Linked DNA regions of Homo sapiens: region 2 is linked to region 1. Evidence: promoter capture Hi-C in 16 types of primary human blood cells and fetal thymus (Javierre and others, 2016). All regions are on one chromosome and are shown on one strand. Each heading gives the region's core, a stretch centred on a gene start or on the middle of the fragment in contact. The rest is flanking DNA. Distances are from core to core; before and after follow the strand shown. Region 1 holds the start of GRHL1 (grainyhead like transcription factor 1). Region 2 has its middle 9.1 kb from the start of SNORA80B.

Region 1 (3,344 bases), core at 845-3,344:
ACAAACAACAGGCTGCATGGATCCAGTGCTGGGCCCGGGGTCAGAGGACAGAAACTGCGAAGGGCGGTCTCAAGTGAGGCTGCCGATTCCGGTCCCTGAAGGCCTTGGACCAGGGCACAGAGGAGGGACTGCTGGCTGCAGGAGGGCCCTGTGACCTCATGCTGCTCCTCACTTCACCTCCTTCCCTTGGCTTCCACGCTTCCATTGCTTCCGACCTCGGTGTCCCCGTCTTCTGTCTCCTCCACTGGCTCTTCCTCCCAGCCTTTCTGTGTCGGAGGCTCCTGGATCCAGCATGGGTCCCATCCTCTTTCCTTCCTGCCTTCTCATGGCTTTAAATGGCCTCTAGACGTGGGCGGCGCCCAGATGTGAGCTTCAGCCCAGACTTCTCCCTTGCACTCCAGCCTCGTACCCAGGAGCCCACCTGATTCATGGATTTTTATCTCCCATACATCTTGAGCTTAGCACGTCCAAAACAGACTCTCGTTCTCCCCCAAATCTTCTATGCCCCAGGTCTTCTGTATCCCAGGGGATGGCAAATCATTCCTCCAGTTGCCCAGCTGGAAACGCTGTAGTCATCCTTGATTCTCTCTTTCTCTCACACCCCATATCCAATTTTCAGACAATCCTGCTGGTCCCACCTTCAAAGCATATCCAGAATTCGGCCACTTCCCACCACCTCACTCTATTGCCCTCGGCCTGCATCATGGCAATGGCCTCCTACCTGGTCCCCACCACGCAGCAGCAGAGAACTATTTTAAAATGTGAGACCCTGTCACTACCCTGCTCCAAGCCCCTCCAAGGCGTCCCCACCTAGCCCAGAGGGAAAGCCACAGTCCTTACGGAAGCCGGCAAGGCCCTGCTCAATCCGCTCCCCTGCGCCCACTATCTCTGACCGCAGCTCCCGCCTCCCTGTGCCCCACCAGCCACCCGGGTCTCCTCAAGGGTCACAAAACACACCAGGGTCCCTGCCTCAGGTACAGTCCCACCTTCGTGGCCCCTCATCTCCTTCAAGCCTGAAAGCCTCGCTCCTCCCCGCCTCCCCAGGGCCTGCCTGCTTTACCTTCCAACCAGCCACACCATTTACTTGTTTTTGTATTGCCCGTTACCCCAACTAGGAAGGCGAGGAGTTGTGTCTGTTCTGTTGACTGCCCTGTCCCCGGCGTCTGGGGCCGCGCCTGTCCGAGGGTCAGGTCCGACGCTGGGCATGTGGGGACTCAGTGAGCGGACCCTGGGAAAGACGGCAGCTCGGGAAGGACAAGTGGGGGCCGTCGCGGTGGAGTGGTGCCCGGGGCCGGCCCGGGGCGCGCGACTGCACGGGCAGCGTGGGGCGGCCGCGCGGGGAAGTGGCGCCCGGGAGGCTGCGGGGCACAGACATCGCGGAGCCCCAGGGACTGCCGCCGAGGGGACCGCGGGAGCTGCGAGGGCAAGAAATCCTAAAAGCGCGCGGCCGCGGTGGGCCAGGAGAAGGGACATTCCGGAGACGGCTCTCGGGGGAAGCCACGGGACTCGGGCGTGACAGCCTGCGAGAACCGAGAGGTGAGACGCGCGACCGGGGAGCGCGGCGACCGGCAGAGGCGCCCCCGCCGGGCGAGCGCAGGGGCAGCGCGGGGCGCTGGGGCCGGAACAGCGGGCAATGTGGGCACGGGGCGCGGAGGCCTGAGTGAGCGAAGAAGGAGGCGGCTGTACGGCCGGGGCTCGTCGCGAAGGGGATGGCCGGGGACGGCGGGGACGGCGGGGGCGGCGGGGGCGGTGGCGGGGCGCGAGCGGGGGCGCTCTCGGTGCGCGCGGAGGTTGGCGGGTGCGCGCCGCAGCCGCAGCGCTCCCTCTCCTGTCAGGGCAGGCGCGTACGGCCGCGAGTCGGGCGCGCAGCCCCGGGAGCGCAGTCCCGGGCGCAACCTCGCGGAACGCGCGGCCCCCGCCCCCCGCCCCGCGCCGCTCGTCCCCGTCAGCCCCGCCCCGGCGCTCTTCTCGCCGACCAATCAGGAGGCGCGACCGGCCTCCCAGCCCCGAGGCCTCGCCCCCAGCCGGCGCATCGCCAGCCAATGAGCGGCCGAGCCCGGCGCCCAGTGCGCGCAGCCCGCGCGGAGCCGGCTCAGAGCGAGAAAAGCAAACCCAACCCGTCGGGGCCGCCGCTCCGGACCCGCAGCCGCCGCCGCCGCCTCCTCCCCCCGGATCGGGTGTACTGTCCCAACCCGAAAGTCCAGTTCTGCGGCCCGGCAGCGGCGAGCGGGCGCGATGACACAGGAGTACGACAAGTGAGTGAGGCGCAGGAGTCCGGCCGCCGCGGGGGGGCCGCGCTGAGGGGCCGCACCTGCAGCGAGCGAGCCGGGCGCAGACCCGAGGCCGCGCGGGCGGGCGGGCGCGGGGCGCGAGCCGGGGGCCGCTGTCCACTCCACGCCGCCACGGCCTTTGCCCCTTAGCCCTGCCGTGCTCTTTGTTCGGTCGGAGCCTCGGGAGGAGAGACCCTGTCCTCGGGGAAACTCGACACCGGAGGGGCCACCCTCCTCCCCTCCTCCGCGGCCAGGTTGGGTCCCCTCGGGCGCGCACCTTGGGGTCCGGGCCCCCGGCGCGGTCGGGTGCGGCGCGAGGTCGGGGCGCAGCCAACGCCCCCGGGCCTCCCCGCCCCCCTCTCCTGCCCGGTCGGCCTCGGGAGCCTGGTGGGGCTCGCGCCGCGTCGGGACAGGTGGACTTCTCCAGGTAATCTGTGGTCTCAGGCTCGTCACTCGGCGACCTGCTGGAACCTCCAAAACAGAAATGTAGGGAAAGGTTGAAGTGCCCCGATGTCCGGGCGTTTTCTTTTCCCTGGCTGGCGGCATGAGTGGGAAAACGGCTGTAGGAGTTATTTTGCCACTTGCATCATTGATGGTAATTACAGATTACCGTGTTTTTAGTGCTCGAGAGAATCAAGAGGATGAAACTTTGAAATCCGGGTGTTAAACGAGAAAGTACTGTACAAGCTAATATGCTTTTTAGAGTGTGTGATTTAAAAGCGTATTTCGACAAATGTGAGGTGGTAGTGTAATAAGGCATGGGGGATTAACTGGGCGAGGGAGTTTTCTGTATTTTCTTTGCAGCTTTTCTGAAAATATAAAATTGTCCTAAAAATTTTAAAAACTTACTAAAGAAAAAACAGGGAAATCGCACCAGGCCAGTCAGTATATTTCAGATCAGGAAGTTTAAGGCAGATAGGTACCCCTCCCAGTTTCTTAGTTATTTGTGAAGGATCGGTTTTTGTCAGTGTGTTCTTTTTCTGGATGAGATAGATATTTTGTATGGAGTATCTTAAATGGATTACTCTTATGTTGTAGAATATGCAGTTAAATTATTGCCTGAAACATATTTCA
Region 2 (3,344 bases), core at 447-2,946, 490 kb after region 1:
CGGGGCTGCCTCTGCCACCCTGGCAGGGAATAGGATTGGCAGAGAGCAGGGGCCGGGAACACGTTGCCCTTGGTGAGAGAAGGATGCCGCATTCTAGTCATGGTCATTGTTCAGCAAGAGCCCAGGAGCAGAAGCTGGCTGGCGAGGCAGGGCCCTGAGGACACCCAGGCCCTCCTTCTAACTTACAGACTCGCCTTGGACGAGTCACTTGGCCTCTCTGGGCTTCATCCCATCTGTAAAAAACAAGAACTGGGAGAACTCTGCAAAGCCTTTGCTTCACATGACGTCCTACCTTGAAACCCGATGGGTGAGATTGGGTGAGGCGGAGAAGGCAGAGCCCCCCACTTGCCCCCCTCACCCCCAGGCACTGAGGCTTCTCGGGAATCCCTGGTGGGGACAGAGCCCGATTTGAAATGGGTCGACTCTTGCCTTCAGGGGCAGTTTTCCAGCCGGGCCCAGAGATGGTGCAAAGCAAACCCCCAGATCCAGCATGGGGGAGGGCCCATGTCAAAGAGGGTACAGGGTGACAGCCAGAAAACCCCCTAAGCGGAAGGGGCTAGCCAGCCACTTCGAGTCACTTAGGAAAATCTAGTAAGGAGGGAACCTGCGAAGAGATGTGTGGTCCCAGTAGCAGAGGTCACTGCTGGGGTGTGACGAGCACATGACTTCACAAGACAAGCCGAGTGAGGCCCGGGAAGGGGCAGGCCCTACCCACGAGAAAGTGCAAAGTGGGCATCAGCCAGGGCTCAAGAGGGCCGCAGGGGGCACACGTGGCTTGCTCTGCCCACCGGCTTCTGGCCTGCCCTTGGTTGCTGCAGGCTATCTGTGAGGGGCAGTGCCTGGCCCTGACACTGTCGGGGAGGGAGGGGTTGACCACCTGCTGATGTGCCAGGAATGTTCCCATCTTTGGCTTCTGATGGGTCTGCTGCCTTCGTCGGCCTCATGAGCTGGGTTGGCATGAGCCAGCCCTCCTGGACCCTGCAAAGGTGAGGACCAGGTCGTGAGCAACTCTACCATGTCCCCCTGAGCCAGTCCACTGCCCAAGCCACCCTCCAGCTGCTTAACAGCATGTTCCCAGGGTAGGGAAACACCGAATGAATGCTGGGGTCCTCTGACCTGGCTTGAATGCTGCCTCACTATCTGCGTGACTTGAGTTCATCTCTGAGTTTATGTCTTCACGCGGGAAACCTATTTTACAATCCTCGTAAAGTCAGTAATACATTCCAATATCAAAAGCGCAGTGTGGAGCCAGTCCCCACTCTCGGCCCAGGCCTCTGGTTCTTCTGCCTAGAGGCAACCTCTGTTACCCGTTTCTTACAAGCTCTTCCAGAAATATGCCATGCATATGCAAGTATGTATGTACACACACAGTTTGTTGGGGTTTGATTTTGCTTTTTACACACACAGTAGCATACTACACGTGCCCCTTGCTTTGCTATCCTCACTGAATCTAGCTTGGAGCTTGTTCCTTATCAGTACTGATGAATCTGCTTCATTCCTTAACCACTGTATATCCCGTTCCATTGACAATTTCATCAGTACCTGCTTGTGTACAAGAGATTGTTTACAAATGATGCCACAATGAATAATTTTAGAAGAGTATCATCAGAGAAATTCTTAGAACTGCTGGGTCAAAGATAATGTGGATTATTGATATTATCAAGTTCCCTCCAAAGAGACTGTTGCTCTAATTTACTTTTCCGCCCAGTGCTTGAGCACACCTGCTCACCCCGCGAGCTGGGGAACTCTTGTCTTTGCCAATCTGATAGGTGAGAAATAGATTCTCATAGTTTTACTGTGTGTTTCCTTTGGTTGACAAATGTCTTCATGTTCAAAAAGTTTACTGTTGGCTGGGCGTGGTGGCTCATGCTTATAATCCCTGCACTTTGGGAGGCAGAGACGGGTGGATCACTTGAGACCAGGAGTTCAAGGCCAGCCTGGCCAACATGGTGAAACCGTCTCTACTACAAATACAAAAATTAGCCCGGTGTGGTGGCATGCACCTGTAGTCCTAGCTACTCAGGGGGCTGAGGCAGAAGAATCGTTTGAACCCGGGAGACAGAGGTTACAGTGAGCTGAGATGGTGCCACTGCATTCCAGCCTGGGTGAGAGTGAGACTCTGCCTACCAAAAAAAAAAAAACTTTACTGTGAGCCAAGTTTATGCCTTGCCCACTTTCTATTGCATAGTTACTTTATTGATTTGTTGTTTTTAATATGAAGAAAATTAGTCCTTTTCACGGGCATTGTAGCCGTTGGTCCCTTGCCTTTTGACTTTGTTTCCAGTAGGTTTATGGTCTAATCTGTTATATTTAAAACTTTCATCTATCTGGAATGTATTTTGGAGCAGGAGTTGGGGATACTTTTATGTCTTCCAGATGGTTCTCCAGTTGCTCCAACACTACTCCATCCCCAGAGTCTGGGGAAAGTGGTCAGGGGGCAATAATGAGTATTTTTAAGAAGCACCCTAAGTGATTCTAATGCACTCTGGCTGCCTTTACCTTTGCCCAATAGTTCAATTCCCCTGAATCCCCTCTCCCGGGGGCCAGCACGCCAGGAAGAAATTCACAAGTGGTCTTGGTGGAGCTGTATTCACTTCAAGTCACGAGTCTAGAAATGCCCAGTATCTGTGCACGACCAGACAGCACCATCTTTAAAAATGACGTGGAGATACCCAAATGCAAAGCAGGACTTAAGCCTCCTGGAGGACGGTGCCTGGTGTCGACACAGCCCCGGCTACCGTCTGGCTGTCCTCGTTCTCTGGTCTCTCCTGCCAAATTCGCCTGCCTGCTCCCATGTACAAGGGCCAAGGAAGATCACTTGATCAAGCCTGGCCACATCATTTCACAGACCCAAGTCTGGCTTTGTTGGGGCCTGTAAGTGGCTACGCCAAGCTGTGGTCAGAAGCGAGGTTTCAGGGGCCACTCACGTGTAGCACGGGATTACCTGCGGCTGTTTCTGTCCCCACTGGCACTACTGACCGTTGTTGGATTACATTTTCCCTAACTGGCTGAAAGAGCATTGTTTCCAAAGCCTTAGTTGATTTTGAGTGGAATACCCCCCTTTTCAGTCCAAGCTCACCACTGCCACTAAGCGATCTCGGGAATTTCTTCCTTTTTAAGATGGAAGACCTAATTTACCAAGATTCTAGGCTTGGTGTCTAGCTCAAATTTCTTGGCACACAGTACATACTCAGTGCCAACTCTCTTAACATAGTGGGTCCCGGATCCCAGGGAACTGCCCTTGTTGGGGAGCTCAGAGTTACCCAAACACACCAGCATCCTACTTCTCAGGCTCCCGGAAGGTAGGGCTGTGGACTACAGCACTCCTTCCCGCCCTCCCCCTC

What was found. Contacts are between HindIII fragments. The CHiCAGO score rates a contact against its expected background, and 5 or more counts as called.
Region 2: a contact is called between a fragment that was not itself captured here and the fragment with the promoter of GRHL1 in region 1, in 3 of 17 cell types (monocytes, non-activated CD4 T cells and activated CD4 T cells). The highest score is 6.4, in monocytes.

What each region holds. Positions count from the first base shown.
Region 1 is chr2:9,949,599-9,952,942 of GRCh38, forward strand. GRHL1 (grainyhead like transcription factor 1) reads left to right here and starts at 2,095. Exons shown (of 16, transcript NM_198182.3): 1 at 2,095-2,255. The coding sequence starts at 2,236. LOC105373422 (a long non-coding RNA gene) reads right to left here and starts at 1,255. Exons shown (of 3, transcript XR_922784.4): 1 at 1,107-1,255. RefSeq lists silencers at 1,326-1,405, 1,556-1,605, 1,706-1,755, 1,846-2,385. The HindIII fragment of the contact is 14,804 bases long and covers 1-3,344 here.
Region 2 is chr2:10,436,115-10,439,458 of GRCh38, forward strand. No RefSeq gene overlaps it. Among named protein-coding and RNA genes, the nearest start is that of SNORA80B, 9.1 kb to the right of the region's middle. The HindIII fragment of the contact is 5,238 bases long and covers 1-3,344 here.